7 separate regions of the Homo sapiens genome follow, and all the other regions are linked to region 3. The links are contacts of gene promoters, found by promoter capture Hi-C in blood cells and fetal thymus (Javierre and others, 2016). All regions are on one chromosome and are shown on one strand. The core of a region is centred on a gene start or on the middle of the fragment in contact, and the rest is flanking DNA. Distances in the headings are between cores, read along the strand shown.

The links. Contacts are between HindIII fragments. The CHiCAGO score rates a contact against its expected background, and 5 or more counts as called.
Region 1: a fragment that was not itself captured here is called in contact with the fragment with the promoter of KRT71 in region 3 in 4 of 17 cell types (naive CD8 T cells, M2 macrophages, M0 macrophages and 1 more); the score reaches 7.2 in naive CD8 T cells.
Region 2: a contact is called between a fragment that was not itself captured here and the fragment with the promoter of KRT71 in region 3, in 8 of 17 cell types (naive CD4 T cells, M2 macrophages, naive CD8 T cells and 5 more). The highest score is 8.0, in naive CD4 T cells.
Region 4: a contact is called between a fragment that was not itself captured here and the fragment with the promoter of KRT71 in region 3, in 4 of 17 cell types (M2 macrophages, M0 macrophages, naive CD8 T cells and 1 more). The highest score is 6.5, in M2 macrophages.
Region 5: a fragment that was not itself captured here is called in contact with the fragment with the promoter of KRT71 in region 3 in 2 of 17 cell types (naive CD4 T cells and M0 macrophages); the score reaches 5.5 in naive CD4 T cells.
Region 6: a contact is called between a fragment that was not itself captured here and the fragment with the promoter of KRT71 in region 3, in 2 of 17 cell types (M1 macrophages and M0 macrophages). The highest score is 5.6, in M1 macrophages.
Region 7: a contact is called between a fragment that was not itself captured here and the fragment with the promoter of KRT71 in region 3, in 5 of 17 cell types (naive CD8 T cells, naive CD4 T cells, total CD8 T cells and 2 more). The highest score is 7.5, in naive CD8 T cells.

What each region holds. Positions count from the first base shown.
Region 1 is chr12:52,959,258-52,962,801 of GRCh38, forward strand. No RefSeq gene overlaps it. Among named protein-coding and RNA genes, the nearest start is that of KRT18, 12 kb to the left of the region's middle. The HindIII fragment of the contact is 7,526 bases long and covers 1-3,544 here.
Region 2 is chr12:52,886,714-52,890,090 of GRCh38, forward strand. No RefSeq gene overlaps it. Among named protein-coding and RNA genes, the nearest start is that of MIR9898, 11 kb to the right of the region's middle. The HindIII fragment of the contact is 4,525 bases long and covers 1-3,377 here.
Region 3 is chr12:52,551,663-52,555,053 of GRCh38, forward strand. It overlaps KRT71 (keratin 71), which reads right to left and starts at 1,483. Exons shown (of 9, transcript NM_033448.3): 1 at 975-1,483. The coding sequence starts at 1,415. The HindIII fragment of the contact is 3,012 bases long and covers 1-1,668 here.
Region 4 is chr12:52,983,145-52,986,327 of GRCh38, forward strand. No RefSeq gene overlaps it. Among named protein-coding and RNA genes, the nearest start is that of EIF4B, 22 kb to the right of the region's middle. The HindIII fragment of the contact is 2,705 bases long and covers 1-2,608 here.
Region 5 is chr12:52,923,161-52,926,780 of GRCh38, forward strand. It overlaps a transcript of KRT8 not described here. Among named protein-coding and RNA genes, the nearest start is that of KRT8, 20 kb to the left of the region's middle. The HindIII fragment of the contact is 7,195 bases long and covers 1-3,620 here.
Region 6 is chr12:52,941,423-52,944,905 of GRCh38, forward strand. It overlaps a transcript of KRT8 not described here. Among named protein-coding and RNA genes, the nearest start is that of KRT18, 6.0 kb to the right of the region's middle. RefSeq lists an enhancer at 2,333-2,927. The HindIII fragment of the contact is 3,648 bases long and covers 1-3,483 here.
Region 7 is chr12:52,907,250-52,910,773 of GRCh38, forward strand. It overlaps a transcript of KRT8 not described here. Among named protein-coding and RNA genes, the nearest start is that of KRT8, 3.9 kb to the left of the region's middle. The HindIII fragment of the contact is 423 bases long and covers 1,847-2,269 here.

The DNA.
Region 1 (3,544 bases), core at 705-3,204, 410 kb after region 3:
ATGGGAAAAGATAGAGCAAGGTATGAGGACTCAGCAGTTGGTGGGGTAGGAGTATATTAGTTTCCTATTACTGCTCTAACAAATTACCATAAACTTAGCGACTTAAAACAATATACATGTTATCGGCATGGTGGCTCACGCCTGTAATCCCAGCACTTTGGGAGGCTGAGGTGGGAGGATCACAAGGTCAGGAGATCGAGACCATCCTGTCTAACACAGTGAAACCCCATCTCTACTAAAAATACAAAAAAATTAGCCGGGCGTGGTGGCGGGCGCCTGTAGTCCCAGCTACTCAGGAGGCTGAGGCAGGAGAATGGAGTGAACCTGGGAGGCGGAGCTTGCAGTGAGCGGAGATTGCACCACTGCACCCCAGCCTGGGCGACAGAGCGAGACTCAAAAAACAACAACAACAACAACAACAACAACAAAAACAATGTACACGTTATCTTACAGTTTGTTATCTTACCGTTTGGTATATCAGAAGCCCTATCAGGGCTTCTGCAGAGCTATTTTCCTTCTACAGGTTGTAGGTGGAACTGGTTTCCTTGACTTTTCCAGCTTCTAGAGGTCACCTGCATTCCTTGACTTGGTCCCATCTGCCATCTTTAAAGCCAGCATCTTCAAATCTCTCCCCACTTCCCTCTCTCCTGACTTCTGCTTCCATTATCCTCACATCTCCTTTCTCTGACCCTTCTGCCTCCTTCTTATAAGGATCCTTTGATGACATTAGATTTACCCAGACAATGAGCATAATCTCCCCAACTTAAGATCTTTGATTTACATGGCAAGGTCCCTGTTGCTGTGTAAGGAAACTCACAGGCAAAGAGGGGCGGTTAGGATATGGACATCTTGGGATGGGAGGGGACCATTATTCAGCCTACCATAGGAAGGGGGCAGCAGATTGCAGGATTTTTTGTTTTTGTTTTTCTTTTGAGATGGAGTTTCATTCTTGTTGCCCAGGCTGGAGTGCGATGGCTCAATCTCAGCTCACTGCAACCTCCGCCTCCCGGGTTCAAGAGATTCTCATGTCTCAGCCTCCCGAGTAGCTGGGATTACAGGCATGCGCCACCATGCCAGGCTAATTTTGTATTTTTAGTAGAGATGGGGGTTTCTCCATGTTGATCAGGCTGGTGTCAAAATCCCAACCTCAGGTGATCCACCTGCCTCAGCCTCCCAAAGTGCTGGGATTATAGGCGTGAGCCACCACGCCTGGCCAGCAGATTGCAGTTTTAAGTAGGGCAGCCTGGGCAGGAAGTGACATTGGGCCAAGACTGAAGGAGATGAGGGACCTAGCCTGGCATATCTTGGGGATCAGCAGCGAGGATGGGTCCTGGGTGTATGAGCAGCATCTCTCAGCCCCCGACCTGCACATTCAGGTTTGCCCTTGTATGTACCCTTAGGTCTCCTTGGGGCCCACAGGGCATTGGGAAAGGGTCGACTGCCAACGTACCTTGCCCCAAAGCTCCTCCTCATCCCCCCTGCACCCTGCCACTGAAGGCCCTCACAGGCCACCAGTCTAAGTCCAGCAGCCTCCCCTCTCTCCTCATCTTTTTCAGCCTCTGCAGCACTTGACCCTGATGTCCTTCTGCTCTTGACCTGCACACCACTGCGCTCCGCAGTCCTCTCACCTCTGCCTGCTGCACTTCATCCATCTGCCCTTTAAACACAGGCCTTGCAGGCTGTCCTCAGCTTTTTCTCTTCTTGGGCCTTTTTTTTTTTTTTTTGGAGATGGAGTCTAACTCTGTCGCCCAGGCTGGAGTGCAGTGGCACAATCTTGGCTCACTGCAACCTCCACCTTTGGGGTTCAAGCGATTCTTCTACCTCAGCCTCCCAAGCAGCTGGCATTACAGGTACCCACCACCAGGCAGCTAATTTTCTGTATTTTTAGTAGAGATGGGGATTCACCATGTTGGCCAGGCTGGTCTTGGACTCTTGACCTCAAGTGATCCACCCACCTCAGCCTCCCAAAGTGCTGGGACTACAAGTGTGAGCCACCGTGCCTGGCCATGGACAATCTTATTTTTATTCCCTGACTCTGTTGCTACCTCTGAGCTGGTATCTCAATATTTACCTCCAGCCCTAGCCTCTCTTGAGCTTCAGAACCGTGCTATATTTTCCAACTGCCTTTGTTTCATTTCATCATGTGGCATACTTAGCTATTTATGTCATCTTCCCCATGAGACTGGAAATGCCTTGAAGACAGGTACCCTATTTTTTTGTTTCTTTGGTTTGTGTTATTGTTTTTTGTTTGTTTGTTTTGTTTTGTTTTGAGACAGTTTCACTCTTGTTGCCAAGGCTGGAGTGCAATGGCGTGATCTCAGCTCACTGCAACCTCCACCTGCTGGGTTCAAGTGATTCCCCTGCCTCAGCCTCCCAAGTAGCTGGGACTACAGGCATGCGCCACCACACCCAACCATTTTTGTATGTTTAGTAGAGATGGGGGGTTCACCATGTTGGCCAGGCTGGTCTCAAACTACTGACCTCAGGTGATCTGCCCACCTCAGCCTCTGAAAGTCCTGGGATTCCAGGCGTGAGCCACCGCACCCAGCCTACCCTGTTTTCTTCATCCTGGTGTCATCCTGGATTGGTCATATAACAATGGCAATTACCATAATAACCAGTATTTGGTTTTTTTTGGGGGGGACAGAGTTTCACTCTTGTCACCCAGGCTAGAGTGCAATGGCACGAACTCAGCTCACTGCAACCTCTGCCTCCCAGGTTCAAGTGATTCTCCTGCTTCAGCCTCCCAAGTAGCTGGGATTACAGGCGTGCACCACCATGCCTGGCTAATTTTTGTATTTTTAGTAGAGATGGGGTTTCACCATGTTGGCCAAGCTAGTCTCAAACTCCTGACCTCAGGTGATCCACCCACCTTGGCCTCCCAAAGTGCTGGGATTACAGGCATGAGCCACCGCGCCTGGCCAGTAACCAGTATTTACTGAGCACTTTCTATGTGTCAGGCACTGTGCTAAGCACATTACATATATTAATTCACTTAATCCTAACAACAACCCTATGAGACGGATAGTATTACAATCCTCATTTTACAGGTGAAGAAACTGAGGCTCAGAAAGGTAAACTACCTTCCTTAAGGTCTCACAGCTAAATAAATGGCAAAGCCAGAATTCAAACCCAGGCAGTCTGGCTGCAAAATCCAAAGGCAGTAGTTGGAATGGATTGGCATTCAGCTCCATTCCAAATTGGTACCTTTCTGCTTCAGAAACCAAAGAGCTAAAAAGTGCATTTCCCAGATGTCCTTGCAGCTAGGAAGTGAATTATGTCGCACTAATTAGATGCAGATGAATACGATTCGGAAAGTGGAAGTGAGGTGAAGACCCTCCTCTGCTGCTTTGATTGTTCCTGCTAGCACGTCTGGTCATGAGGCTGTGGGATTTTTCTGGAGCAGTGTCCAGTGTCCAGTCATTTGCTTTGTAGGTATTGAGTATTGTGAGACAGTTGAACCACAAGGAGCAGTAGTGGTTTCCTGATCCATGGATCACAGCTGCAATTTGTGTTCATGGGTTCAGTCAGCTTCAGGATCCCC
Region 2 (3,377 bases), core at 303-2,802, 340 kb after region 3:
GTTCCTGCTTTCAAAATGAAAAAAAGAAAAAGAAAACCTGAATAGAGGTTATGGAAAGTGAATGTGCTGCCCTGGGGTGGGTGAGGGACACAGAAGGGGTCAGAGAGATAGTTCATCTCGAAGGGGATCCTAAGGGAAAGAGCATGCATCTTTATTTATAGTTTGCAAAACATCTTTACGTGCATCACCTTAATAAACATTACTGCCTTTAATCCTCATGAACACACTGCAATCTGATTGTCCCCATTTCACTGGCAGCAAACTGAAGTTCAGAGCAGGGAGGCAACATCCTCAGGGTCATAGATCCTGTGTGACTGGCAGAGCCAGGGTGCCCACCTAGGTCTTCTGCCCCCTCACCCAGGGCTTATCCCACTGTGCTGACTTTAATCATGTGTCCCTTGCAGAGGATGCCAGGGCCCATCTTCCTGAAACTGCTTCCATCAACTCCCTTCCTTATTCCCCATGCCTCAAGAAAAACAAAAAAAGAAAAACAGTCCAGGCAAGGTGGCTCACACCTATAATCCCAGCACCTTGGGAGGCTGAGGTGGGTGGAGTACCTGAGGTCAGGAGTTCAAGACCAGCCTGGCCAACATGGTGAAACCCCATCTCTACTAAAAATACAAAAATTAGCCAGGTGTTGTGGCGCGCACATGTAATCCTAGATACTGGTGAGGCTGAGGCACAAGAATTGCTTGAACCTGGGAGGCAGAGGTTGCAGTGAGCTCAGATCGTGCCACTGCACTCTAGCCTGGGCAACAGAATGAGACTCCATCTCAAAAGAAAATAAAAGAGAAAAGAAAAGAAAAAGAAAAAGAAACAAGAAAAGAAAAGGGCCGGGCTCGGTGGCTCACGCCTATAATCCCAGCACTTTGGGAGGCCGAAGCGGGCGGCTCATGAGGTCAGGAGATCGAGACCATCCTAGCTAATGCGGTAAAACCCCATCTCTACTAAAAATATAAAAAATTAGCTAGGCGTAGTGGTGAGTGCCTGTGGTCCCAGCTACTCGGGAGGCCGAGGCAGGAGAATGGCATGAACCCGGGAGGCGGAGCTTGCAGTGAGCCGAGATTGTGCCACCACACTCCAGCCTGGGTGTCAGAGAGAGACTCCATCTCAAAAAAATAATAAAATAAAATAAAGTAAAAATAAAAATAAAAAAAAGAGAAGGGAAGGGAAGGGAAAAGAAAAGAAAGAAAAACAATCTCCAACGTCACCCACTGCTGCTGAGATCAACTACAAATATCTCAGCCCTGCATCCCAGGCCTCTGTGACCCACCAAAATGTCCAGAGAATAAAGTGGGTTGGCTCAAAGGTATTGTGAAAAGCACCAAGTCCAGCCCCTCTTCTTTGTTCAAGAAAAGGGGACCAAGGCCCAGAGAAGGCAGGGATTTCCCAAGTGTCCCAGAGCAAGCCAAGAATGTGGAAGCCAGTTTGCTTCCCCGCCAGTGTTTTCTCTGCTCATCACCCAGCCACCTCTGGCAACCACACCTCTGAGACAAGCTGATGTGCTCAGTCTTAGGATTTGCTTCAGCTGGGAGTAACAAAGAAAAAAAAAAAAAAAGCAGTGGCTCAATCCAGACAGATATTTATCTCTCAATTCCCAGACCTATAGAGATAGTCTGTCCAAGGCCAGTATGGCACTACTTTATGGAGGGGACCCAGATCCCACCTCTTTCTTGCTCGGCCAAGGATGACTTCCATTCACCAGGTCACTCATGGTCCAACATGGCTGCTAAACTTCGGCCATTATGCGTGCATTCCTGCTGGCAGAAAGGAGGGGCGAAAGAAGCAGTTCACACTTCCTCTCCCTTTAAGGACACTTTTTTTTTTTTGTGACGGAGTTTCGCTCTTGTTGCCAGGCTGAAGTGCAATGGCACAATCTCGGCTCACCGCAACTTCCGCCTCCCAGGTTCAAGTGATTCTCCTGCCTCAGCCTCCCGAGTAGCTGGGATTACAAGCATGCGCCACCAACCACGCCCAGCTAATTTTGTATTTTTAGTAGAAACGGGGTTTCTCCATGTTGGTCAGACTGGTCTCGAACTCCCGACCTCAGGTGACCTGCCCACCTCAGCCTCCCAAAGTGCTGGGATTATAGGCATGAGCCACTGCGCCTGGCCTAAGGACACTTCTTAGACCCTGTACCCTCCACTTCTACTTCTATCCCTTTGAAACATGGCCACAGCTTAATCATAAACAATGCAGGAAAATGTCTTTATTCCAGAAAGCCGTAGCCCAAATAAAAAATAGGGTTCTAATTACTGAGGAAAAGGGGAGAACAGGTATTAGGGGACCACCAGGGTTCAATGCCTCACTAAATCCCCAGAGTCCACCATGCACACTCTTCCTCACCTTGCCATGTTCCAAACACCTAGTCCCTCCTCCATCCTGTGCCTGAGACAGGGACTGGTTCACCCTAGATGCCCAATGTTTGCTGAATGACTGAACAAATGAAATTGACTTTTCTGGAATATGTATTGTTTTTCCAGATCAGCTAGAAAGAGTTTGAGGACAAGGATCCTGTGTTATGTGTCTTTGTATTCTCCTCTGCCACCATCCTCCCCAGCTCCCAGGCACCAGGCACACACTCTAGACATGTTGCAAGCCAAGTTCTGCCCTAACTCTGTTCTGCTCACCCCTTCCTCAGGCACCTAAAGAGTGTCAGTTGCTGTCATGGGCTGGGTGTGGTCCAGAATCTCTTCAAGGCCACTTCATGGGGAAATACTTTCAAAGATCAATCCACCAGCTGTTTCTGGACTAGGTCTGAGCAAATTAATATATCTCCCCAAAAGGAAAGAGTTTAAAAGGGTTAAAATTGCAGAAAAAGAAATAGATGGCTGGCCAGGCATCGTGGCTCACACCTGTAATCCCAGCACTTTAGGAGGCTGAGGCAGGCGGATCATGAGGTCAGGAGATCGAGAGCACCCTGGCCAACATGGTGAAACCCTGTCTCTACTAAAAATACAAAAATTAGCTGGTTGTGGCGGCACATGCCTGTAGTCTCAGCTACTCAGGAGGCTGAGGCCAAACAATCACTTGAACCCAGGAGGCAGAGGTTGCAGTGAGCCGAGATCATGCCACTGCACTCCAGCCTGGCAACAAAGTGAGACTGTCTCAAAAAAAAAAAAAAAAAACTTATCAAACTCCCAAATTGTTTGGGCCAGGCTCGGTAGCTCACTCCTGTACTCTCAACACTTTGGGAGGCCAAGGTGAGTTGATCATGAGGTCAGGAGTTCAAGACCAGCCTGGCCAAAATAATGAAACCCCGTCTCTACTAAAAATACAAAACTTAGCCAGGCATGGTGGCATGTGCCTGTAGCCCCAGCTGCTCAGGAGGCTGAGGCAGGAGAATCGCTTGAACCCAGGAGGTGAAGGTTGCAGTG
Region 3 (3,391 bases), core at 233-2,732:
AACAGAACCCTCCAGTCTCCTCCTCTGGGTCTGGAGGCAAAAGGCTGAGGGTCCAGCCTCACCCTTCCCTTTCCCCAAATGACCCTGGGAATGCCATTTACCTCCATGCCTTCAGTGACTCATACGATAGGGATAATCATTTCTTCTCTGCCAGAAGTCAGGGGCCTATCTGGACTGTGTCATCTCTTCAGGTCTCTAGACACCTTTGATTCCTCCCCTGAGCTTCCCTCCCCCACATTCCAGAGATAAGAAATGAGAGTCACAATCACAATCATTTTTGGAGTATTTAGTGTGCGTCAGGCTTGTGACAAGATCTTCACCTGCATTTTCTTTTATAAGCCTGACAACAACCCCAAGACAGAAGTTATTATCTCCATTTTAGAGATGAGGAGATGGCAACACAGACAGGCAGATCACCTTCCCAGAGCCACTCAGCTGTGGCCAGCAGTGAGCACAAGAGCACCGTGGAGTCCCCTTCCCCAGTGCCCTCTTCTGCCTCTCAAGAAAGTCTTCAACTGACTGGAGCAAATGCCCAATCAGAGGGCCTGAAGCGGCCCCTTCCTGCTGCTCCTGATCCGCTGGGCAAGTGACCAGTGGGCAGGGCAGCATGCCAGGGGAGGAGGACAGCTTCCCTGCTTACTCTGGGCGAGACTGGCTCTCACAGGCCTTTTCTGCACACGGCCTGCAGGCCTAGCAATGGCACCAAGCTAGCCCTCAAGAGGAAGGACCACATCTCTTGCTGGGAGCCCTGAGAAGCCTCTGCCAGTAGAAATTGACCTGCCTCTGTTTTCTCTCTGGAAAGACAACACAGAGAACCTTACACAGGTCACCCTGTTGATGGGATGTACCTACCTTGTCCACAGTAAAGTCTTCCTCACATCTAACCTCAATCTCTCCTGCTGTAACAAAATCGTATGTTCCAAGAAGAGAAGAGGAGGGCTGTTCACAAGTTCCCCAGGCCCTAGAAGACCCACCTTGTCGATGAAGGAGGCGAACTTGTTGTTCAGAGCCTTGATCTGCTCTCGCTCCTGGGCACGCACTTTCTGGATCTCGGGGTCCAGCTCCACGTTGAGGGGGGCCAGGAGGCTCTCATTGACGGTAACCTGGTGGATGCCTCCAGGTGGGCATACAGTTGGGCACACAGGCCCCAGGGCCACACTGCCAAACATGCTTCCAGCAAAGCCACTGGCCCGGCCCCGGCCAAATCCATAGCCTCCACTCTTCCCGCTGCCACTGGCCACATTGAGGCTCCGGACACCCCCCAGGCTGTAGAGGCTCCGGCTGCCAAAGCCCCCACTGAGCCCTTTGCTCCCTGCCCGGAAGGAGGATGAGCTGCCCCCTGAGAGCACAGCTGAGCAGCCACTGAAGCCCCCCTTGGCGGCAGCTCCCGACTTGCAGGTGAATTGGCGGCTCATGTTGCTGGTGGAGACAAAGCTCAGATGCAGGAGGGAGGAAGGCAAAATCCCAAAAGGTTCTGCTGGTTGTAGTGAGGACTGGCAGGTGCCTTTATATGTGCTTGGCACTGGGGCTTGTGGATGGGCAGTCAAGAGCTTAATTCGTGGGTTTGGCTTGCCTGGGAGCAAGAAGTCATTTTCTCTATGCTGAGCTAGAGATCAAGCCCTCTCCACCTCTGAAACAACATGAAACCTTCAAATTGCTGGGCTTGCAAGCTTTGCTCATGTAATTTGGGTCTTATCTAATTAACCTGCTGTTATAGGGTAATTTGCCCCAGGCCCTGGCCTCTCCAGGGGGATGTCACTGGCACTGCACCATCCCTATCCTGATTAATCTTCTCTGGGTTGTTGGCTTCCTCCTGGGGATGCAGCAGGTGAAGACAGGATGGACTTTCCTGGATAGTTCAGGACACTGGGTAGAGTACTGGGGCCTCCAACTTCTGTTCTCCTCCTTCCTGGAAAGGGACTGATCAGGCATTACCTCTCCCCAGGCCTCCTGGAAACATAACCCATAGAGGGCAGCTGCTCTCACTCATGGGGTATTAGGAGGTGGAGTGACCCTCTCGCTAGCATGGGACAGAAGCAGCCCAGGCCAGAGCCAACCACGGGCACTATCCTCACTTCTCCCCCCTCAAACACCCATAATAAAGCAGGCTGGAGGCTTCAAACACTGGAGAAAATGAGGACGAGAAAAGGAGGATGGAGTTGGGGCAGGTGGCTGAGAAATTCAGGGACTTGACTGGAAGGAGGTACAGAGAAGACAAAGACAGAGGCTGGCCCATGGCCTGGAGGGTTATGGAGATTCCTGGGTGGTCCACTTCCTCATTTCTGTCTCTCCTCCAATGTGTATCTGCTAATAAGACTAGGAACAACTTGAGGACAGTAATCATCTGTTTAGAGTTCAAATAAAGAAGCTGTTATCAACATGAAACTTAACTCCTATTGCCTCTGTCCAGGCCCAAGTGAGCCAAGAACAAGGCTGGCTGAGCCCTCCCCAGGAGTGCAAGCCTCCAGGCAGGCTCAGACCAGAAAGACCCAATGGGGGCGACCCAGTAAGCACGATGTCATTCTACTCCAAACAGTCCTTTGATGCCAGCCCCAGAGACTCTGGCTGCAGCCCCTGCTTCCTAGCCACTGGCTCCTGTGTTGGGCCCCAGCTACTCCCATGATCGCCATTGCCACTGTGGCCCTATTCAACCCAAGGCAGCTCTGTCCCTGAAGATCACCCTTGCCCAGAGATCCCTGCTGGAGCCCCATGGGTGAACAGCAGCTCTTTGCTGGGTGGGGCACAGGAGGGAAGAAAATCTGGAGACAGGCTGGTTTGGGGCTCTCTCTCATATTGTTTAGGGGAAGAGCCTGGACTCCAGTCCCTCCCAATCCTCTGCATTCCTTCCTCTACTCTTGCCCCTGCCATTTTGTCTTCTTTGCTCTTACTGAAACTACCCGAATTTTCCTATCCCTGCCTTCTCTCTTTCTCACCTTCTCTCTCCATCCCTCCTCATCCCTCCCATCCATCTTCCCTCCATCCTTCCCTCTCAGCCTTTCGCCATCTCTTGTTCTGTCACTTCCCCATCCTGCTCTCCTCCAGGAGGTCTTCCTGCACCCACACAGGCCAGGTCTGAGCTCTCCTTACCTCCCTCCGCTCTGAACACATCCTTAGCATGTGCTGGTGGGGCTGCAACTCTGTGACAGCTCCCATGGGGATCCTCTGAAGCCATGTCACATGTCATCTTAGTTTTTCTTTGTAAGGCTAGCAGAGTCTTCTCCAGATTAGAGACCACCTAGTGCACTCTGAGATGGAGCAGGGACGCCCTCGTAGGGGCCTTCAGGTCCCCTCAAGCATGGAAATAAAGGACAATCTTGAGTTCCTTCAAGGGAAATTCTGGGCACCTTGCTAGCCTGGAGAAATAAATAAGCAACCTGACAAGCAAGAAGAT
Region 4 (3,183 bases), core at 6-2,505, 430 kb after region 3:
CACCTCTAGCCAGGGCATGCACTCCTCAATCTTCCATAGTCTGCACCACTCCCAGTGACCTACACCACTTCGCACACTTGCCTATCTGAACCCTGACAGTATTTGAATTTGAGACCCTTAAAAATATTATTCCACTTGATCTTTAACAGGGGTTTGTAAGGAAGGCAGTAGCATAACAAAGGTAGGAGGGTAGGAGGATTCCACCCTGAGTCAGGCAAGAACGGATGTTTAGTCCGTAACGAATTTTATTTTATTTTATATTTTATCTATTTTATTTTATTTTATTTTTTGAGGCAGAGTCTCCCTCTGTCACCCAGGCTGGAGTGCAGTGGCAAAATCTTGGCTCACTGTAACCTCTGCCTCCCCAGTTCAAGTGATTCTCCTGCCTCAGCCTCCTGAGTAGCTGGGATTACAGGTACATGCCACCATGCCTGGCTAGTTTTTTTTGTTTGTTTGTTTGTTTTTGTTTTTTTGGTTTTTTTTTTTTTGAGACAGAGTTTCACTCTTGTTGCCCCGGCTGGAGTGCAATGGCACAATCTTGGGTCACCACAACCTCCACCTCCAGGGTTCAGGAGATTCTCCTGCCTCAGCCTCTGGAGTAGCTGGGATTACAGGCATGTGCCACCACGCCTGGCTAATTTTGTATTTTTAGTAGAGACGGGGTTTCACCATGTTGAGCAGGCTGGTCTTGAACTCCCAACCTCAGGTATTCTGCCCGCCTTGGCCCCCCAAAGTGCTGGGAATACAGGCATGAGCCATCGCACCAGCAGTTTTTGTATTTTAATTAGTATTATCAGTGAATTAATAATATCTGCCCTATGATTATAAAATTGAGCAGTATAAAGATATACAATGAAAAGAAAGTCTTCCTCCTACCCAGCACCCAGCCCCACAACCCACTCCAGAGGCAACCATTATTTACAGTTTTTCAACGTATAGGTGGATATCATTTTAACCTAATTTTACAAATGAGGAAACTGAGGCTTAGAGAGGTTGAGTGGCTGTCCTGAGATCACGGGCCTGATGGAGCTAACAGAGATGATATCAGATCTTGTCCTTGACACTGCATTGCCACCCTAACATCATCCTGCTTCACACATACATCCTGGGTATGCATCCTGGACTGAGAGTCCTCAGAGGGCAGGAGTTGCCCATGGAACCTGCTAGGGGCAGTAGTCAGCACTGGGCCACTGGGTGCTACAGCAGGAGGCCTGGGATCTGCACCATGATTAAGCTGCTGTGTGATGTTGAGCAAATCTCTTGATTTCCTCACTTGCCTTTCTTTCTCACTAGGCTATATTGAGATTTAAACAAGCCAAGTAGAAAGATGATTGGAGAGTAAAGATGTCATACAGATTCAAGGAGGGGTGAGGACAGATATTTAGTATAGGGTTAACTTTGTACTTTCCTTGGAGCACACGTGTCCATGTTCAGATACTTTACAGATACTTTAACTTGAGCACATGCGTCCTTGTTCAGTTCCTTGAAAAGTGTTGCTTGTTCACTGCCTTTCTTCTTTTTTTTTTTTTTTTTTTTTTGAGACAGAGTCTTGCTCTGTCACCCAGGGTGGAGTGCAGTGGCGCGACCTCAGCTCACTGCAACCTCCACCTCCTGGGTTCAAGTGATTCTCCTGCCTCAGCCTCCCAAGTAGCTGGGACTGTAGGCACGTGCCACCACACCCAGCTATTTTTTGTATTTTTAGTAGAGACGGGGGTTTTACCGTGTTAGCCAGGGTGGTCTCAATCTCCTGACCTCGTGATCCACCCGCCTCAGTCTCCCAAAGTGCTGGGATTACAGGCGTGAGCCACCGCGCCCAGTGCCTTTCTTTCTTTTTTTAGACAGGGTCTCGCTCTGTCACCCTTGCTGTAGTGCAGTGGCACAGTCACCACTCACTGCACACTTGACATCCCAGGGCCAAATGATCCTCCCACCTCAGCCTCCTGAGTAGCTGAGACTACAGGTGTGCACCACCACACCAAACTAATTTTTTATTTTTTGTAGACATGGAATCTCACCATATTTCCCAGGCTGGTCTCAAACTCCTGGGCTCAAGGGATCCTCCCCCTTGGCCTCCCAAAGCACCGGGACCACAGGCACATGCCACCATGCCTAGCTAATTTGTTTTTGTTCGTTGGTTGGTTTCTGTAGAGATTGGGATCTCACTATGGCTGGTCTCAAATTCCTGAGTTCAAACCATACTCCTGCCTTGGCCTCCAAAAGCACTGGGACTACAGGTGTGAACCACTGTGCCCGGCCTTCTGCCTCTCTTCTTTTTTGTGTGTGTATCGGGGTTTCGCTCTTGTTGCCCAAGCTGGAGTGCAATGGTACGATCTCAGCTTACTGCAACCTCGCCTCCCAGGTTCAAGCAATTCCCTGCCTCAGCCTCCCAAGTAGCTGGGATTACAGGCATGCACCACCATGCCCGGCTAATTTTATATTTTTAGTATAGACAGGGTTTCACCATGTTGGCCAGGCTGGTCTCGAACTCCTGACCTCAGGTAATCCACCCGCCTCGGCCTCCCAAAGTGCTGGGATTACAGGTGTGAACCACCGTGACTGGCCTTCTGCCTCTCTTCTTTGGAAGAGGGTTGACTTCCATTTCTCTACAAGCTTCAAGCCCAGTACAGGTAATAAGCCCATCAAATTGGCTGCACAACCACCTAGAAGGTTTGGGGCCAAGCCACATACTCAAGTAATGACACTTCTTTCAGGGAGCAGCACAGGGCTCCCAACCCATTTGGGACACAGGACAGCCGAGGCAGAAAATTCAATCGTGGTAGACAGTGTATCTCTCCAAAGAAGAAACACTTGTCTTCTGCCTCCAGCTGACATTCTGTGACTGCACAGACAGCACTATGTCAATTTAGCTATTACTACATAAAAAACCACTCCAAGACTTAGAGGCTTAAAACAATAATTAGCTCACAACTCTGCAATTTTAGCTGGGCTCAGCTGAGCAGTTCTGTTCATCTCACTTTGAGTTGCTTAAGTGGCTACAGTCATATGGATCAGGATGGTCTATGATGGCCTCACTCACATAACTGGCAGTTAGCTGGGATTCTCAGCCAAAGCACCTCACTTCTCCTGCCTGTGGCTCTCCAGCAGAATAGCCTGGGTTCCTTGCCTGGTATCAGCAGGTTCCAAGAGAGTAAAAGTGGAAGTCACAAAATCTTCCAAAGTCTA
Region 5 (3,620 bases), core at 980-3,479, 370 kb after region 3:
AAAGCGTTCTAAGGTTTATGATGAAAATTAAATGAAATTAAGTTAAATTTTTGTTTTGAGAATTGTTTTAGACTATTCCTAGAAGAATGTGCAGTAGCAGGAAAACATAAGTTTGGAAATCAAATAGCCTGTGTTCTAGTCTCAACTCGGTCTCTAAATTGCTGTGTGACATTGGACAAGTTACTGCTCCTCTCTGAGCTACAGTTGCCTCATCTATATAATGAAGGGGCAGGACCATTTATTCCTAAATTGTTTTGTTTTGTTTTGTTTTGTTTTTGAGATGGAGTCTCGCTGTGTTGCCCAGGTTGGAGTACAGTGGCTTAATCTCAGCTCACTGCAAGCTCTGCCTCCTGGGTTCACGCCATTCTCCTGCCTCAGCCTCCCGAGTAGCTGGGACTACAGGCGCCAGCCACCACGCCTGGCTAATTTTTGTATTTTTAGTAGAGACGGGATTTCACCTTGTTAGCCAGGATGGTCTCAATCTCCTGACCTCGTGATCCGCCCGCCTCGGCCTCCCAAAATACTGGGATTACAGGCGTGAGCCACCACGCCCGGCTCTAAATTATTTTTATTACTAATTATTAATTTTTGAAATTATTAAAATTACCTGTATTATTACATTTAAATTAATATGGATTTTAGAGCTTTGAATTGCCTAAAGTGCTTGCAGTGTAGTGAGAAAAGCATTATATATTTTTTTTTTCGAGACGGAGCCTCGCTCTCGCCCAGGCTGGAGTGCAGTGGCATGATCACTGCTCGCTGCAACCTCCGCCTCCCGGGTTCAAGCGATTCTCCTGCCTCAGCCTCCCGAGTAGCTGGGATTACAGGCGCCCGCCACCACGCCTGGCTAATTTTCGTATTTTTTCAGTAGAGACGGGGTTTTACCATGTTGGCCAGGCTGGCCTCAAACTCCTGACCTCAGGTGATCCGCCTGCCTCAGCATGAGCCGAGTTGTGAGCCACCCACCACACCCGGCCAAAAGCATTATACTTAAAATCATACATTAGGCCAGGCGCAGTGGCTCATGCCTGTAATCCCGGCACTTTGGGAGGCTGAGGCAGACAGATCACAAGGTCAGGAAATCGAGACCATCCTGGCTAACACGGTGAAACCCTGTCTCTACTAAAAATACAAAAAAATTAGGCGGGCATGGTGGCGGGCGTCTGTAGTCCCAGCTACTAGGGAGGCTGAGGCAGGAGAATGGCATGAACCCGGGAGGCGGAGCTTGCAGTGAGCTGAGATTGCGCCACTGCACTCCAGCCTGGGCGACAGAGGGAGACTCCGTCTCAAAAAAAAAAAAAAAAATCATACTTGATTTGGGCTCTCAGCTTTTGTTCTCTCATATGTAAAATAAATTAGATTGAGGCTGCAGTGAACTATGACAGGCCACTGCATTCCAGCTTGGGCGACAGAGCCAGACCCTGTCTCAAAAAAATAAATAAAAATTTAAAAATAAAATAAATTATATGATGATAATGTTTGTAAAGATAATTGTAAAGATAATTGTAATTTGTAAAGATAATTGCTTGTATAGGACACTACTGTATAGGACACTACTGTGATGGGAAAAGACCATGCACTCTTCTCTAAGAATTCACCGTTCCTTCTGTCTTTTGCCTTCCTCCCCTCAGCTAAAGGGCTCCTGGAGTGAAGTGGACCCTCAGCTGTACTCTGTGGTCTGCGGCAACAGCCAACGCACAGAGGAGCATCCTCTCCTTAACTAAGCACCGAAAGGGAGTGAAAGGGTAGACTGAAGGAAGGACTTACTAATTCAAGGAGTCATTGGAGCAGAAATGAGTGACCAGGAATGGGGAGGATGCGTCTGTGGAAAAGGAACAGGGCTGGGCCCCCTTCTCACTGGTCCTAGATGGGATCAGGCCTGCCCAGAAGCCAAGAAAAAGATGTTGTATAGACCTCAATGGGGCAAGGCCGGGATGATTGAGGGGATACCTTCAGGGGAGGAGGTGCTAGGCAGTTTTCTGAAAATGGTGCGTTCAGACAGCTCACTATTTCCTGTAGTAATTCCAGGAAAAGACTGAGTAAGACAAGGTCAGGACCGGGAGGAATGCAGCTGGAGGAGGTGTGTATGCACAGTCTCCCCAGGGTGAGCCTGTCCAGAGCCATAAACCTTATCTCCTTCCTCTGAATAGCTGGGATAGCTATCTCTGGCTCCCAGGGGCTCAGGCTGAGTCAGGGCTGGAGGCTGGGAGAGACTGTGGGCCCCGAAGCATACCTAAAACTGTGAGACCACTCAGCACTTAGGTATGAATGGCGCCATTTAGGGTCTGAAATGGTCACCATTTTCAGAAACCTGCTCAACACCTCTTCCCCTGCAGGTATCCCCCTCCGTCATCCTGGCCTTGCCCCATTGATACCTGAAGTGTGGCACATTCAGGAATGAGATTGGAGCAAAAGGGATCTCTTTGGCGGAGGTGGGGTCAAAGAGATAGATTAGGATGATTCATCTCCACAAAGGCTAAGGCTTTAGATTCCTACCAGCCAGCCCCAGGCCAGAAATTTCCCCTTCAAGGAAAGTTGGGCTCCAGGGCTGGGCAATACTATCACCTCAATTATCCCTCTGTTCCTGAGTTCTAGGGTTTATGCACAGTTCTTAATGGGGCCTAATAGTTTCTTTGTCTCTTCCAGCCCTCTATCTTAGAGGACAGGAGGTGGAGCCTACCAACAAAGGGACCCAGGTTCCAGTTCCAGGGCTGCGTTTCTCTCCCCCTCAGGGCCCATTACTCTGAGCTGGGCCCCAGGTAGGGGAGGAAGGAGGAGAAAGGAGGCAGTGTTCTCATGTTCTCTGTGTCCCTGAGAAATTCCCCACCTCCCTTTCAAGCTCCCTCCTAGCAGGCTGGTGAGACCTGCCCTGGAGACAGGCTGGTGCGAGAGGCCCCCTCTGCAGAGTGGAAGGGGGTGACATAATTGCCTGTCCTGAGACTTCTAGACATGTACACACTGTCCCTCTGCCTGGTGTGTCCCTGCCCCCCGCCCCCCACCACCTCTCCTGCTCGCTCAGGTATCCTCTCCAGTGCCCAGCCAGACTGATCTTCTACAAACACTGCTTTGATCCTGTCACTCCCTAGCCCAGAGCTTCCCGTTGCCTTCAGAATAAAGGTCAAATTCCTCATCTGGTGGCTGAGGCTTAGCCTTCCCCACCTGGCACTAGCTGCCCTCCCCACCCCACCCCCAGGACTGTGCCCTCCTCTCCTGAAGCACCTCCTTGTCACCTGCACCTGTTGAAACCTTACCCTTCCTGCAGGTCCTGGCTCCAGCTCACCCCATTCATTCCGCAAACATTTGCTGAATGAAAATCATGCATCAGGCACCTCCCCACAAAGCCTGCCCCAGTCACCTCTGCCGGAAGTGGCCACTCCTATAGAGACCCCAAGAATAGGGCTTTGTTACACCCCTGGGCTGGGTTACACTTGCTGTGGGCATGTCTGAGCTCCCCTCCCTGATTGTAAACCTGATCCACAGTCATTTAGCATGCACTGAACATCCACTATTAATGAGGCATTTTCCATATTTGTCTCATTTGACCCTCACAAGGACCTTGGGAGTTCAGTCTTCTTATCCTTATTTACAGATGAGGAATCCAAGGCTCTAAGAAGTAATGT
Region 6 (3,483 bases), core at 457-2,956, 390 kb after region 3:
TTCTATCTGCGAAATCTTACCCTTAGCCCCCGGGCTCCTCTAGCAAGTTTTTGCTCTTTTTTTTTTTTTTTTTTTTTTTTTTTGAGACAGTGTTTCACTCTTGTTACCCAGGCTGGAGTGCAATGGCGTGATCTCAGCTCACCGCAACCTCCACCTCCTGGATTCAAGCAATTCTCCTACCTCAGCCTCCCGAGTAGCTGGAATTACAGGCATGTGCCACCACGCCCAGCTAATTTTGTATTTTTAGTAGAGACAGGGTTTCTCCATGTTGGTCAGGCTGGTCTCGAACTCCCAACCTCAGGTGATCCGCCCGCCTCAGCCTCCCAAAATACTGGGATTACAGGTGTGAGCCACCGTGCCTGGCTTTTTACTCACTTTTTGAAGCCCTGTCTGAGCATTCATTTGACCTCCGTGAAGTTCTCCATGACCCCAGTCCTTCAGCACGTAGAACGCAAGCTCCATGAAAGCAGCAACCTTGTGGCTTTTCTGTGCTGTATTCTCAGATCCTAGACCATGCTGGCATTAGGTGCCTTACAAAGCGTTAATGAATTAATGAATTCTTCCTTTCTCTGACAGTCCTCTGGAGCTTGTCATAGCACCAATCACACTGTATTTTGTTTGTCCAATGATCTGTTCCCTCTAATAATAATCTCCTTGATTATTATTGTCTAGTTGTATTTATCTTTGTATTCCCAGGTCACTATTGGTGGAAGTGAACTAAACCGACAGCCTTAAAGCTCCATGTTGATGATTCTTCCAGGAGGAGGAGGCACACTTAACAAGCACCTGCTCCGCCCCAGGCCCTATCATACATGCTTAATCTCTGCAACAAACCGATAAGGAAGCTGGAGATCAGAGAAGCTCGCCGACTTGGGCACCCAACTTAGGCACCCAACTTGACCAAGGTCACCTAGCAAGGAAACAAGCAGAGCTGGGATTCAAACTGAGATCTGTCCAACTCCAAAATCTTGTTTCTCCATCCTCTCTTTTCCCAAAGATTCTTAACCCCATGATTTTCAGTGCCTTCAGCACCCTGAAGTGACATCACCAGCTGCTCTGACCCCAGATTCTGATACTCTCTCTCACCTTCCCCATCTCACGCTCCTGTGCTTTCTCTGCAGCTTCCAACTGCCGTGCCACCTCAGTCCCGGGCTTCCTCCTTTTCCACTAAACTCTTCTGTTTGCCTTTGCTTCCCCACCCAAGGCCCAGCCCTTTCAGCCATGTTTTAAGGCTTCTTTGTCCCTGAGCTTCCACCTCTCCTGCCTTCTCATCCCTCAGTGAAGCCCACCATTTTTTCTCTCCCACCCCCAGGATACGCAGTGTTTCTTGTGTGGCTGGTCTCATCATGAAGCCATGTTGTGTAACTGCTGTTGGGATCTCAAGACCACTGACTCACCTTCTTATGCCTCATGGTTAGAACACAGAGTTCACCTAATGTGCCACGGTGTCCTCCTGCCTCTGCCACACGCTTCTGATTGGGGAGGAAGGAGCCTAGAGAGGTTACACACAACACATCCCAGCTCTGCCACCTACTAGGATATCACTTTTCAGGTTGCAGCTTAAATGTCACTCCACTCCCCCAGAATCTCAAGCAGGATTAGTGTTTACTGATTTGGGCTTCCATTGTTCCCTGGACTCACCCAGGCATAGCACCAACCACACTTTAGTGCTATTGCTTGTTTAATTACTGATCAGCTTTACTAAACTGTCTCATCCTAAGGCAACCGTCCATCAGTTCTGCGACCTAACAACCGCTTGGCCTCCCGATTTCTCCTGTCCGTCGCTGATAAACTGCTTGAAAGAAAAGTCTACATTTTGCCTCCACTTGGTCCTCTCTCTCCTCCCTCTCAGTCCACACCCCGGCTCCAGGCTCCATCGCTCTACTGAAAGTGCTCTTTTTGTCCTCAGCCTCCCTGATCCTTTTGTGCACCTGGCCCTGTGGGCCCCCCTTCCTTGAACCTCATTCTTCTTGGCTTTCATGACGTCCTCTCTCCTGGTCTCTTCCTGGGAACTTAGAGATCTAGGCCTTCTCCTCTTTCTCCTCTTCTCCCTCTGTCTCTTCCTCTTCTTCTTGCCTCAAGTCCCTCTGTGCTGACTCTGCTCCTTCTTTTCCCTGATCCTTTCCCTTAGGCCACCTCACCCACAACTGGGTTTCACCCAAATCCTTGAGGGGGATGCTCCAGGTGGGCCCGTTGCACGTGGCCGTGCAGGGTGTTCAGTGTACAGGCACACCCTGCCAGGAAACAAGGAAGAGGCTCCCTCTCTGCAATTTGTGTAAAGGCCCCGCAGGTTAGCTGTGACCCTGGCATCCATACCTCCTGCCCCATGCCTCTCCCAAGCTCCAGCCCTGCTCTCCTAGCTGCTCACAGGATAGTTCCCTAAACACTGCTGGCAGAACCTGCCCAGCCTAGGCCAGGAAAGAGGCTGACAGAGACAGAGCCGGCTGACTGGATGATCTGGAGATAGGTTCTTGGCCACTCTGTTCTTCCATTTCACCCCCCTTTTCAAAGACTCAGTCTTAGCCACCCTGCCCTGAGCCCATGTTAGATGGAAAAAAATAGTGGTGAGCAGGGAGCAGAAGGCTGGAGAGTAGTAAGTGCAAAAGAACAAGGGGGCTGGGAAGAAAAGGAGCAAATGGGGCAAAGCAGACAGGAGGGGAGGTCAGCTGGCTTCTCAGCTGCCAAAGCTCTTCCAGGCACGTCATCTCATTTGGTCCTCATGAAAACTCTCTAAGTGGATATTACTATTTTTCTCATTCTACAGCTGAGGAGAGACCAAGCTAGTAAAGGCTGCTCAAGATCACTAAGCCAGCAGTGGGGAATATTGTGAAATATTGAAATATTTTATTATTTCATAGAGACAGGGTCTTGTTATACTGCCCAGGCTGGTCTCAAATTCCTGGCCATAAGCGATTCTCCCACCTCAACCTCTCAAAGTGCTGGGATTACAGGCATGAGCCACCTGGCCGAATCCAGGTCTTTTGACACCAAGTGCCCTATTCATCCCTTTGCCCTCCCCTAATCTCTGGGCAGATTTGAGTGAGGCGATAGGCTGGGGGATATGGCATTGGGATACTGGGGTTGCACCTGAGGAGAAGCCAACAGCACCAGGGTCAGAATGGGCAAAGGACATAAGCACAGGCAAGGCCATTCCTGGTGGGGCTGGGCCAGGGAGCTGAGGGGCTCCTAGAAGGGCCAGGTTCCCCGACTTCTCTGAGCTTCAGCGCCTGGAGGTTTCTGGGCAGCCACACGCTTCTCAGCGCTGACCCTTCCTCTTCCTTTATCCTTGGAAAATAACCCCTAGGGCACAAACCCAACCGAAGCAATGATACTAAGTGTCAGGGCATTCCTCGACTCTCCCACCCCTGGGGAAGAGGGCCTGGCCCAAGCCCTGAGAACCCGTTCCCACCTCCACAGGCAGTGCCAGGGACTCCAAATAGGGTGCTGAAATTCCAGAAGTCTTGATATCAGACTGGGTCCTGC
Region 7 (3,524 bases), core at 808-3,307, 360 kb after region 3:
ACCCACCAGGGCTGAGAAGCTTTTAACAGAAGACCAAAGGGAGAAGGACTGGGCCCAGTGCCAAACCTGGGACAGGGAAGGCGGAAGGAGGGAGGGAGGGGCTGGTCAGACGGGTATGGCAGCCCTGGAAAGGGAGGACAGGCGCTCTCCCTATCTTCCCTCCCCCACGCTGCTGTTAGAGGGAGCAGGGGGCACTCAGGTCCTGATCTAGGCAGCACAAGGAGCAAAAAAACAGCACCCCAAAGCCTTTCCTGAAATTCCAGTCCCCTCCACCCCACCTTTCTGGTTCCCTGGTTCTAGGAGTGTCCCTTGTTTAAGGTGAGGACAGAGGGGGTTGCCAGGGACCCTGCAGTATGCAGGCTGGAGGGCTGACCCAGACCTTACCCAGCCAGGGGAAGCCCTTTTTTTCTGGGGCAGCCCAGAACCGTCTAGGGCCAGAAGTGTTTGTGTCTCATTTGTCATCTCTCTATTGCCCAGAGACCCCAGCCAAACCTTCCCCCAGATGCCCCAAGCACAGCCTCGGTGCAGGAGAAGAGGCCAGAGTTGGCCTCTCTGATGGCCCCTGCCTGGGACTTCAGGGTTAAAGGCAGAAGGAGAAGGCCCCTGGGACTAGGGCCAAGTGGTGAGGGAAGAGAGAACCAGACTGGAGCAGGCCCACAGGTACAACTCCTTGTAAGGCATTGTGGTCTACACACAGCTGCCTGCCGGACAAAAGGGAACAACGTGTTTGCGGTGCCTGCCCTACCCAGACAACTCTGCCTCAAACCGCCTTTCCTGGAGAGTGAACCAGGGAAGGAGGAGACACTCACTCCCTGTGGGCCAAGAGTGAGGGCCAGGCCCCCTACTTCTGATGGTGCAGGATAATTCAGAGAAGGCCCTGAGACCCTGAGCAGTGGCATTAAGTCTTGGGGCCAGTGGGGTGGGGAGGTAGCTGTTATCATCACTCATGATCATGGGAAGAGATGGTCTGAACAAGTTTTTTTTTTTCTTTTTTGAGACGGAGTCTCGCTCTGTCACCCAGACTGGAGTGCAGTGGCGCAATCTCGGCTCACTGCAAGCTCCGCCTCCCGGGATCTGAACAAGTTTTGCTTAGAGATCAGGACTGATGATCTCATTCGCTGCAACCTTGTTCATAATAGCCAAAGAGTGGGAACAAAACAAATGTCCACCAAATGACGAATGGATTTCTTTAATGTGGCATATCCATACGATCTAATGTTACAATTAAAAGGAATGAACTACTGATGCATGTTGGATGCAGATGAGCCTTGAAACCCGTATGCTCAGTGAAAGGAGACAGTCATAGAAGATCAGGTACCCTATGATTCCATTTATATGACATGTGCACAACAGGCAAAGCATAGAGACAGGAAGTAGATTAGTGGTTGCCTAGGGAGGGGAGGAATGGAGATGAATGCTAAAGAGCACAGGGTTTCTTTCTGGGGTGATGAGAATGTTCTAAATTTGATGGTGGTGGGCAGGCACAATGGCTCTACCTATAATCCCAGCACTTTGGGAGGTCGAGGCAGGAGGATTACTTTAGCCCAGGAGTTTGAGACCAGCTGAGCAACATAATGAGACCCCCGTCTCTACAAAAAATACAAAAATTAGCCAGGTATGGCGGCACACGCCTGTAGTCCCAGCTGCCCTGGAGGCTGAGTTGTGAGGATCACCTGAGCCCCGAAAGTTGAGGCCGCATGCATTGAGCCAAGACTGTGCCACTGCACTCTAGCCTGCGTGGGAGACAGAGTGAAACTCTGTCTCAAAAATAAATAAATAAATAAACAAATTTGATGATGGTGAAGCTGCACAAGTCTGTGAACATACTAAAAATCACTGAACTGCAAGCTTCAGATTGTTGAATTATATTGTATGTGAATTACAGCTCAACAAAGTTGTAACAAAAAGATAACCACAAAAGCATAAATGAGCTACATATAAAAAGCAGGGGCTTTGTGCCCAGCATAAGGGGTCAGGGGAAAGAAGCAAAGAGTTTGTTTAGATGCCCCAGGTAAAGAGGCTTCCTGCCTCTGGGTTAAGGCAATGCCCGAAAAGCACCCGAAATCCCTTTAAATGATGGAGCATTTTGAAATGTTATTATTGGTATAGAAATAGCTGCATTTAGCATAGAGACAGCAGAACAATTTGTTTAAATAGGAAGCCACAGGTGGTGGGTACACCCCTCAGGAAGCAGCATCATGAATAATAGAGTCAATTCGATTGCTAATTTTGTGTTATGTGCCTCAAGGCTAAAATTTTTCATTGTCAAAGCTTAGCAAATGCTGACTTTTTTGCTCTTGATCAGTGATGGATCTGATGATTAAAGCCAGCCAGGATGGAAATGGACTGCCTAGAGAGGGAGCAACCTCCTGTACCTGGAGACATGGAGAGGGACCTTGCTCACCAGCTGTCCACTGGCTCAGTGGGAGGGGGTTCTCACATCTGCTAGGGTTTGAATTAGAATGTCCAAGTCCCGCCAACTCTGAAAGCTTTTGATCCACATCCACCACCATAGAGCTTTACGCACTGAAGATGAAAATCTGTGAATGTTCTCTGGTTTGAAATTTTGCTTGTGATAAGAGATATGATTAGAAATTATTAGAACAAGAGTGAGGGAGGACAGCACAGCCTTGTTGTGGAGGAAGGAGACACAAGCCCAGCAGCCTGAAGATGTTGAGGTCTCCCACACTTTTTTTTCTTTTTTTTAGAGACAGGATCTCACTATGTTGCCCAGCCTGACTCGAACTCCTGGATGCAAGCAATCCTTCTGCCTCAGCCTCCCAAAGTACTAGGGTTACAGCGTGAGCCACTGCACACAGCCTTTCTCACATTTTCAACATTCTCTCACCCTCCTCTCCACTGATGCCAAACCAAGAAGGTCATCCCACTGGGTGAGCATGAAGCCTAGGCGGAAGGTCCCAGCTATGGCTCAGTCCACAGAGTCCTTCCCCTTAACTCTGGTTCTCCATCACATCAAGATCGCCCGTGGGAGATTATAACAGTATACGTGCTCAGGTCGCACCCCGTCTGCATTTTCAAAGCTTCCTCGGTACAGCCAGAGTCAGGCACCAGGCTTTAGCTCTGGTCCCAACACCAAGACCTTTAGGAACACACTTTCTTCCTCTTCCCAGAGGAAATAGGCCAGAGCTCAAATCCACAGCACTGCAGGTTCCTGCTTAGAAAGGGTGATATACTCTGTCCCTCAGGAAGGAAAACAGAGTGGTTCAGTCCCCAGAACCTGAAACTCCACCACCGTTGGCCAGGGCCACAGAGACAGAGACAGAGACTGCGAGAGGACAGACACAAATGGGTCCCACTCCTGACAGTGAAGACAGCGGTACTGGGGACTTGAGTGACAGGAAGTGGAAGTTATTGAGAGGATTTCAAGGAAACTTCAGAAGCTGACATTGCGATAGGGGAAGCCCTCATGGTGTTCAGGCAACCGGACAGGAGTGCAGGAAAAGAACAAACAGGAAGGACCTGGGGCTCCGCTATAGGCATCCTGCCCACCCCCACCCCAGCCC